Regions from separate parts of the Homo sapiens genome. Here region 2 is linked to region 1. The links are contacts of gene promoters, found by promoter capture Hi-C in blood cells and fetal thymus (Javierre and others, 2016). All regions are on one chromosome and are shown on one strand. The core of a region is centred on a gene start or on the middle of the fragment in contact, and the rest is flanking DNA. Distances in the headings are between cores, read along the strand shown. Region 1 holds the start of MBP (myelin basic protein). Region 2 overlaps MBP (myelin basic protein).

Region 1 (3,637 bases), core at 169-2,668:
TCCCTGACGTTTCCTTCCTCTGAAAAACTCTCTTTCCAGGCGGGGCGTTCTGTGGTCAGACGAGGCAGAGGCCTCCCCGGAACGAAGTCCACGCCCCCTCCCCACCCCAGCACCCAGCGAGCCCACGCGCCCCTCACCCACGCGCAGAGAAACCGAGCACTTGTTGATTCTCACGTTGTTGCAATTGGAAAACGGAACAAGGAACCAGAGCTCGCCTGTTTCCAGCCAGAGTCGCACGGGGGTCCCCAAAGACGCTTGAACCTTTTCCCAAGCCCCACTCCACCTTCCAAAACGGGGGGGCTCAGGTGGACGCGAAAGGACACAAGGCGCTGCCCCCAGCACCCCGGAAAATCTAGTGTGGCGGCAAATGACCGCAGGTCACACACCCCGGCCTCGGGGGCCACGGAAAACGGACGCACCCGGCCCAGGACAGGCAGTGGGGCCCAGGAGGGGACTGCCGGGAAGACCCGGGCGGGCCGGCGGGCGGCTGCGGGCGGCGCACGTGGGCCCAGGTGGGCGCAGCGACGGGCCCGGCCGAAGAGCCCGAGACAGGCCCTGCGAAGGCGGAAGCCCGGACCCGGGCTCTCCTGGCCGCCCCTGGAGCTCAGAGGGAGACTGCGCTTCGCCCCGGGGGCAGGGGCAGGAGCGCGATCGCGCGCGGGGCCCCCGGGGTGTGATTAGCAGGCGCCGCGAGCCGGGAGGACCCCCCAGCCCGCCCTGGCAGCCAGCACCCTCTCCACACCCGCCCAGAGTGGCCGCTTTTGACCGCCGTCCCCTCCCACCCTAGACTCCTCCCCTCAGCCCCACGGCCCGAGGCCGAGCGGTTTCAGCGACCCTGGGACCGCCGGGCCTGGCTGGAGTCCACCCCTGGACACCTGTCAGGGTCGGGCCCCGGCGCTGTAAACCCGCGTCTACACCCGCGCCCAGCCCCCGCGCAATGGGGATCGGGGGCGGCGACTTGGGTTCGGGTCAGGGAGGCCGCCGGCTGCTACCTGCTCGGCCACCTGCTCCGCTGCCTAGGTTCTCCCTGCGCGTCCCCAGCCAAGAAAGGGACCCGGAGTCCGGGCGTCGGGATAGCTCCTGTCCCCGATCTTGCGCCCCCGGCTCCCGCGGGGCTCCGGTCCGGGGTCCCGCCCAGGTCTCCGCGGTCCCCACTCGGAGGGGCACAGAGACAAAGGCGGCAGAGCAGCCCGCCCGTCCCCGAGGGTCACCCACCGGCGCTGCGCTCGTTGCTCCGAGGCCGAGGGGCGCCGCGGGGTCCAAGGCCCTGCTCCGCCTGCCCAGGCCCGGGCAGGCTGGTCTCGGCTTCAAGCGCCCACGCGCGGGGTCCCCGGGCAGCCTGCTTCGCCTTCCGGGGTCGGGAGACAGGGGCCGCCGGGGCCGGAGGCTGCTTCTCTCTGGCGCGCGGCGGCGGTGACTGACGGCGGCGGCTCCGAGGGACGGGCGCGCACCCAGCTCCCCGGCCCCGCCTCCCCGGGCTTCCTGCGAGCCAGGTAAACACAGGCCGATCCCGCCGGGCCCGCCCCACCTGGACGCGGCCGCCGGCGCCGCCCCGGGAGCTCGGAGGACCCCGGGCCCGCTCTGCCCACGCGGAACTTGGGGGGCGCACGGGGCCCACGCGCAGGGTCAGACCTCGGAGGGGCGGCCTGGAGCCTCGCCCGCTGCCGAACTGGGCTCCGAACTGCGGCCCGTCGACCCTTCCCGTTCGGAGGCTTGGCCTCCGAACCCACCCCGACCCCGACCTCGACCTCGCGGGAGGGGTGCCAGGCCGCATCTCCCCGCGTCCTCAGGGGCTGGAAACCCCAGAAACTGCCGATAGACTTGGCGCAGCCCCGGCCCTGCAGGAGGAGAGTCAGCCCGGCCTGGAGGCGAAAGGAGCCGGCAGGTCCTCCCAAGGCACTCCCTCCCTCCCCTGGAGCCCAGGCCAGGCCCATGTCCGGCTGGCAGGTGCTCCTCTGGGAGCTGGGAGCTGGGAGCTGGGAGCTAGGGGCGCACCTTCTCCTGCAGGACCGGCGCAGGAAGCGTGCGCGGAAAAGACAGCAAAACACGCGCAGGTGCGAGGAAGCAGCCTGGTCCTGCAGCCCAGAGACATCGTGGTCTTCGTCGCTGTCTTGTTAAAAAGAAAAAGCCTGCTGTTTAGCCGTGACTCACCTGCACACAGATTTAGTGGTCAGAGATCTTTCTCTGGATTCTCAGCCTCCTGATGGTGGAAGAGGAGGAGGTTGGGGGAGTCCCAGAATGAGGCCCCGCGTTCCTCCTGACCTACACCCCCAGTCAGGGATCTGGATCTGGAGCTTCCAGGGGACCTGGAGCAGCCTGGGACCCACACAGTTTGTTAGGAAGTGAGGGAGAGGGGTGAGCGCTGTCCCGGCCCGCGCTGGGAGGCGGGACTCAGACTTCAGCACGGGGTCGGGGTTTCGGCCTAAAACCAGCCTCCCCCAAAGCCCCGGAGGATTTAGCAACTGTCTTCAAATGCTGGCAACTGGAAGAGAAATACTTCCACAACGACGCAAAAGCATTCAGTCTGGTCGTTTCCTCAGGAGAGATTTTCAAGTGGAGGGGGCAGGAGGGTTCTGAGACTTTGAGGCTGAAGGTGAGGAGGGAAAAGGGTGCCAAAGATAGTGTGTTTCTCCAATTTTTCTGCCCCACAACCTCACTTTAAGTCAAGGATGAGCGGAGTGGGCGTGGGAGGCTGGACAGCTGCCCTAGGAGCACGGGTGGTGACAATGAACCCGGGTGCACCCAGGTCCCAGCTCAAGTCACTCAAAGCTCAGGCTGGGGAAGCTGGAACACTAAAATGGGTCCCATTTTAGATACCTGCTTTAGCATCAGAAACAGCTTTTCCTCCCCAAAATATCTCTTGGCTTTATCTCAGTGACTCCACAGGGCGGGGCCACCTTCCTGCCTGCAGATGTCCCTGTGTGCTGGGCTCTGGAGCGTCCCTCAGGCCACAGTGACAGCTGCACACGCGGCCTTCTGTTTGGTGCTCCTTCTGCTGGTGTTACAGTGGTTTCCTGAAACACTACATATGCCAACAGTCAGCCCTACAAATGTCAGGCTCCACAAGTTCCAGTTAAAAGTCTTTTTAAAGTATTTATGAAATTTCACCGTGCATATTTTGTTGGGATAGAGTGTCCACACAGATGGGCAGCCAGGCAGTTTAGAAAAGTCATGGATTCTTCAAAGAAAACATGTAGATAATACTATTTAATAAAACAGTGGATTCACATTTGGATCAACTGGTCTTATCTTGGGGGCTTTCATGCCCTCCCGGTTAGAAAAAGGACCCCAGGTTGAGGACAGTGGATGGAAGAAACAGAGGCTGGCATTTCACTGTCGAGAGACAAACTTTCACATGAAGATGTCCATGTAGCCCTCAGCAAAGTGACAGAGATTCGTTGTGCTGAATAAAATTGAAAGGCATCTTTTGACAAGTAACCCATCAAAGCCTCATTGTGTCTTTGACATTTCTAAGAAAATCACATTGCAGTTACCCCCATCTTTCACAAGGTACCGGAGAGCAGAAAGTTTGACCTATCCATCATCTCATATGGCAGCAAATAGCAAAATGTTTTGTGCATGAAATACACTCAATAAATTTTTGTTAAGCTGAATTAAACTCCAAATTACCCAAGCT
Region 2 (5,670 bases), core at 275-2,774, 130 kb before region 1:
CATTAGAGATGATCTGCCTCCTTTCAGATCACACATATTAACACAGTACATTTTGTTTCCCCATTTGTATTGATTATGTGCCAGTTTTGGGGAAGTGGGTCAAATAACTGAGTGTTGATAACATCTGCCCCATTTTCCCACCTGATGGGATGGAGCACAGGAAGTTGGCTCCATGTGGAGTTGCCGCCTGGAGACCTCTGGCCTCTCGTAAACCTGGAATGGTGCGTTCTCATGGAGGCAACCACGGCAGGGTCCCATGCACCTGGCTCTCTCCACCTGGGCCTCCCATTAGGGCCTTTGCTACAGAGATGCACCCATCAGCACTCGGCTGTGGAGCCTTAGCAAGCACCTGTTCTTCCCTTTGTCGTGTGGTCCATGATGTCATTGCAGAATGACACGTTAGAAAAATGTCTCTTTGTTAATGTATCTCAATATGCCCAGAGAGCAGCATCTACCATCCAGTGGCTAAATGCAGTAGGGATTTCCTTATGGGCATTGTCTTAATCAAGTAAGTGGTCCAAGTTCTAGGAATGTACATGTTTTCCCTGTGTCCCCAAAAGGATTCAATGCAAAGCCAGAATAGAGAAAGCAAGGCGTCTTGGTTTTAAAACACGAGGTGTGATCGTAAACCAAAAATATCATTCAGCACTGCTCCCACGTCACCACTCATTTTACAGATTTGAATATTGAGATGCACAGAGGTTCAGGGAGCTGCTCGCAGAGGCTGCTAGCTGTCTAGGGCTTGAACTTTAGACTGCATGCCAAGCGAGACTCTTGTGGAGTGAACGTAGGATGAGAGGCTCACGTTACCCACCTGAAAGTCAGCGGCCTATGGGGAAATTCACTGGCTAGTCATAGGAGAAAGGGAAAAGGGAAGGGAGAAGAACGGATTTTTAAATTGTATTTTATTACAAGAATTTGTAGACTTACCTTGTAGTAAGTTATGAAGCTATTGGCTAGAACTAACAGTGTGCTCACAGACGAGAAAAATAAACTAGTATCTGTAGACAAAGTCAATGACATATGCCAGTTAGTGTCTAGGGAATGAGGGAAGCTTCAATTGCTGCTGTTTACCAAAATAATTGGGAACTAATTTTCTAGTAAACACTGATGGATACAATAAATGCCAGTGTAGTTAATGAGATGAGATTTTTCAATTTTCTCTGTCATTTTAAAAGACGCATTTCTATGTAATTAAAACAAAGGGCCCATCAGTTCCTCCTTTCAGTGGAGAGTGATGCCTCAGGACTGACAGATGGCATCGTCTGGACTGTCCTATTTTGTCTATGTGACTGAAAACCAACCAACCAACATATCTCCTGGTCCTTATTCCTTTAATTTCCAGGTTGCACATGGCGGGTTTTTGCACACATCCACAAAGCGGCATTCGGGACCTCTGCTGTTCATTTCGACGGTTTCAGCAGTGGCCCTGAGAGTGAAGGGCGAATGAATTTGCTTTTTACTCTTTTTACCTCCCAGAGTAATATTTGATTCTTCTGGCACTCTCAGGAAGTGCAGATACCAGAGAGCTCAGAAGTTAATCTGAAAAAACTCAGAGACAGAGAGCTCAGGGATGAATCTGTGTGGCCTGTTCAGAACCACAGAAGATAGTGGTGTCACTGTTTTTCTGAGCTGCCATGATAAGAAAGAACAGAGGTATATTTGATATAATTTTTTTCTTGTGAAAGTGATAATATGCTTCTTCAGTATATTTTTTGAATTAGGAATCGTAAAATGTAGTTCTAGATGAAATAGATGCACCTTTTCTGCCATTTTCCCTACATCACACTTCTTTTGTGGCTCACAGAGATCCTTGACATCCCCAGAAACCTTGTTTAAGTGATTAAATGATCCTCCTTAAAGATGCTCAAAGGAGACAGTCACCTACGCAGCATCTTCCTTTCTCTCCAGGGATCTTCTGTTATTCAATGCGTGCGTATTTTCTACCTAAAAACCGGTGGGAGTGGGAAACAGCAGACCCCCTGCAAACTATCTGAAGCTTAGGGTCATGGTATCTGTTTCCCATGGAAACTGGAACCAGCAGCTAAAACAGGCACCAGTGAAATCAGTATTATTGGACAGAACATGGGTGTCAAAGTCTGCAAGGCTGGAGATGAGACGACACATCCGACTGTAAATGGTGGGCCATGCTGTCTCCCCTTTTCTTACTCTCCATCCCCCTGACTTCATAATGCTCTGGCAATTCCGAGAAATCACAGAACACTGTGGTTCTCTTTTCAATACTAGTTAAATACTAGTTACAATACTAGTTAAATAATAGCTTCCTCTGAAAAAAAGCACATATATATATATGTGTCCCCCCCCACTCCCCGCCGCAAGGAAGCTATTATTCGATTTCTGGTCAAACAGCTCCTACCATGCCTCAGGAGAGTATGTTAGATTTTTTTTTAAAAGCAAGATCAGGGCATTTTAGATTTTGCAGTTTGGAGAGAATTCTTTTCTGTCTGAATGACAGATGCAGTTTTTCCTGTGTTTTTGCCCTTTGCCGGGTTGAAGATTATGTTTATTCCTGAATCATCGGCTCGCACGAGTTAATGAAAGTCACGGGCATTTACTTTCTTTACAGAAAGCTGTGCACCATCCAGAATAGCGGGCTTTTCTCTATGTCTGAAAAAATTCACAGACAAGCCTTTCGTTCTGATGCAGATTTCAGGTAACCTGAGGCTGTTACCTCAGCTCCTTGCAGAGGATGCAGCTCCTTGCAGATACTGGGAATGAGAGCGCTGCAGGGTGGCGGCCGCTGGCGCCCGTGGCTTGTGTGTGTGGTTTCCCTTCTGGTGCCCTACTCGGGAGGTTGTTGCTTTGCCCCATGACAGGAAGGATCAGCGTTTCTCCTCTTAGCAAACTGTGAGGCTGGATGCAGAGATTCAGATACTGCTTTTGTAGATGTGGTCGGGGCATATCTGGTTGTGTTTTCTCTCCCATGTTTCATGGGGAAGTGAAGCTCCCGTGGCCTCCTTTGGGGGCCTTTGCCTCTGTCCGCTGGTGATACAGGGGTCGGTATCAGAGACCTCTTGGCACGAAACCTTGTGGGACCCACATTGGGGCTCTGGCTCTGGGCACAGAAGGATACAACAAATCAAAGTTCGGCAGCCTGTGCTTCTGCCATTAAGTAAACCCTTTCAGTGGCTGCATTTTTCTGATCTGGGTTTAACCTCAAAGAGGAAGAGCTTTGACGCCGGGTTCCAGCTTCCTCATCCTGGTGAGTGTGCCGAAGAGGGAGAAGCAACGGAGGTGGACAAACGGCACCTGTCAGAGGCGAAAGCTGCTGTCAGATTGGCGAGGAAGTCCTTAAAATGGTTGTGTGCTTTCCGCCGGGTGGCTGTGCCATGGCCTCTCTGGTTGGCACCTTGATGGCAGCCCGCCCCCAGGTACCATGTTGCCATGGCGTCTCCATGCAGGAGCACACCCTTCATGACCACAGCTCCGGGAAGCAGGGTCTCTGTTCCTTGTCCCGAGAGACCCACGGAAAAAATTCCTCTTCCTCATGGCAAGAGGGACTCCTCTCCCACGGGGGAGGCTCAGAGACGTCTGTTTCCCAAACGCAGATGACTCGGAGCTGATGGCCAGAGAGTGAAGTTCTAGTCCAGCTGCCCCAACCATGGGGCTTTTGAGGCTTGATTACCATTTCCTTCTGAGAATGGTGGGAGCAGGGATTGATATGAGGTTCACCGCTCGGATTTTCATTTTACAGTTTCGGAAACTAAGGCCCCAGCACAGAAACACAGAGGACCCAAAGCTACAGCCTTGAGGGGCAGAGGGGCCAGGGCCAGCAGGGCTTTTAGAGCCAGCACTGCCCTCCCCAGCAGCTCTGAGGGTGGCCAGGCCTCTTCCAGAATAGCACGAGTGTGGAGTGGCACTGGGGCAGGGTTATGATGACACCAATGTTTTCAGAGGACGAGGCTCCTGTGGGGCCTTTGCATTGCTTTTCTTGCTTGATCAGCACAACGTTCCAAAGCATCTGCAGGACAGGTGACGCTTTTGCCACCATTGCTGTTTCACAGGAGAGGGAAGGAAGCTCAGAGAAGACAGACACCTGCCCCAGGTCCACGGCTATGACGCAGTGCCATGAGACCTGAGCCAAGCATTTTTGGTTCTTCCTCCTGTGCTTTCCCATGGCACAAAATGCTTTGCTTCCTAAACGCCAGTGTGCTGGGTGATGGTGGATTCAGAGGCAGGGCAGGTCTTTCCAGAAGCCTCCATGGGCGCCAAGGCTGAGGGGTGGACAGTGTCCTCCAAGTCAGGCCAGGAGCACAAGGGTCTGTGAGAAAGAGGCAGAAAGGACGTCCGAGGACTCGGAGACAGTGGCTGCTGGAAGCCCAGAGCAGCCCCTTCCTGCTCAGGTCAGTGTCCTGGGCCCCAGGCCGAGCCTGGAGCTTGGAGGAGCTGGCACCGTTGGCGGGGCCGAGAGGAGCCGCCCTGCCCGGGGCCACCTTTCCAGCTGCACCACTGGCGCCCTCACTCCAGCCTCCAGTGCAGGCCCAGCACCGGGTTCCAGGGACCTGCAGCACGGGATGGACAGGCAGGCGGGCAGGCAGGGGCTGAGCAGACAGAGGAACTGCAGAGAACAGTGGGTCCACTTCCCACGCAGCCATTCCCCATCGTGCGTGTTGCTCCTCTCCCCTCAGAATCCTTGCTTCCCCAGCTTGCTTTTGGGTTCTCGCATGTCGCAATATTCCCCTACTGTGCTCCCGCTGCCTGCCTTCCAGTCCTCAAAGAAAAGAGCCCTGTCAGCCCCGAGAGCACCGGTGTCTCTGGGAGTCAGGGAGCTCGGAGCAGGGTCCCGTGCTGGAGGGGGCACCGCAGCACGGGAGCCAGGCTGTTCTTTGCCTTGTTGCCTATTTCATAGCTGGGGTGTCTCCCTTACCCTCCTGGTGTGTTTGCACAGAGAGAGAGAGGGAAGAGGAAGAGAGAGACACGAAGAGGGAGGGAGAGAGGGGGAAGTAGACAGACAGAGAGACAGGGAGGGAGAGGACACAGGGTGAGGTGGACCCAGGCGGAGGCCCTCTGTTCAGCTCGCGTTTCTCAGCCGCAGGGCAGGGAGTTCTTGGTTCCGACTCTGCTGGTTCCTGGCACTGCTCAGCCTGAGCCTTCCACCCAGCTGCTTCTGTCTCCGTTGGGAGCTGACTTCAAGGGTCCTTTGTCATGGAATCCCTGCATTTTAAAATCCCTCTGTATTTTAAAACCATTTAGTGCCTCCGGCCTTGCAATTCCTTCTTCCGTGGCTGGTGCCCTCACAGCCACTTTCTTGCAATAATAAAGCATCCCAAAGTACCGGAGGAAGGCATTCTAACTCAAAAGCTCCTTCTCAGGGACGAGAGAGGGAAGCTCCTCGCTTATTCTTCCACTCAATATGCAAATGGCGTGGGATTGCCACCGTCTTCGGGCAGGGGCACCCCTGGGGGCTCTCAGACCAGCCCGCCTGCACCCTCTGTGTGCACCTCCTGCAGAGATGGCCTCTGTGAGCCAGGCATCGCCGGCCCCTGCTCAGGGGGCTGGAGGGAGAAGTTGAGGCCTCTAGCACGCATCCCTGGGAGGGTTCTCTGTCCATTAAGAGCAACGCTGGGAGCCCACACAGCCTGCCCAGGCTTTAGTTTCAACTTACGCTTATCTTCATTTTCCCTTCATTCCATAGACATGTAAATACCA

What was found. The method cuts DNA at HindIII sites, captures the fragments that hold promoters and counts their contacts. A CHiCAGO score of 5 or more calls a contact.
Region 2: a fragment that was not itself captured here is called in contact with the fragment with the promoter of MBP in region 1 in 15 of 17 cell types (monocytes, non-activated CD4 T cells, naive CD4 T cells and 12 more); the score reaches 14.6 in monocytes.

Annotation. Positions count from the first base shown.
Region 1 is chr18:77,131,365-77,135,001 of GRCh38, forward strand. It overlaps MBP (myelin basic protein), which reads right to left and starts at 1,419. Exons shown (of 9, transcript NM_001025101.2): 1 at 1,216-1,419. RefSeq lists a silencer at 384-1,683. The HindIII fragment of the contact is 15,459 bases long and covers 1-3,637 here.
Region 2 is chr18:77,001,961-77,007,630 of GRCh38, forward strand. All of the region lies in intron 4 of MBP (myelin basic protein), which reads right to left. Among named protein-coding and RNA genes, the nearest start is that of MBP-AS1, 24 kb to the left of the region's middle. RefSeq lists enhancers at 3,509-4,408, 4,409-5,307. The HindIII fragment of the contact is 945 bases long and covers 1,053-1,997 here.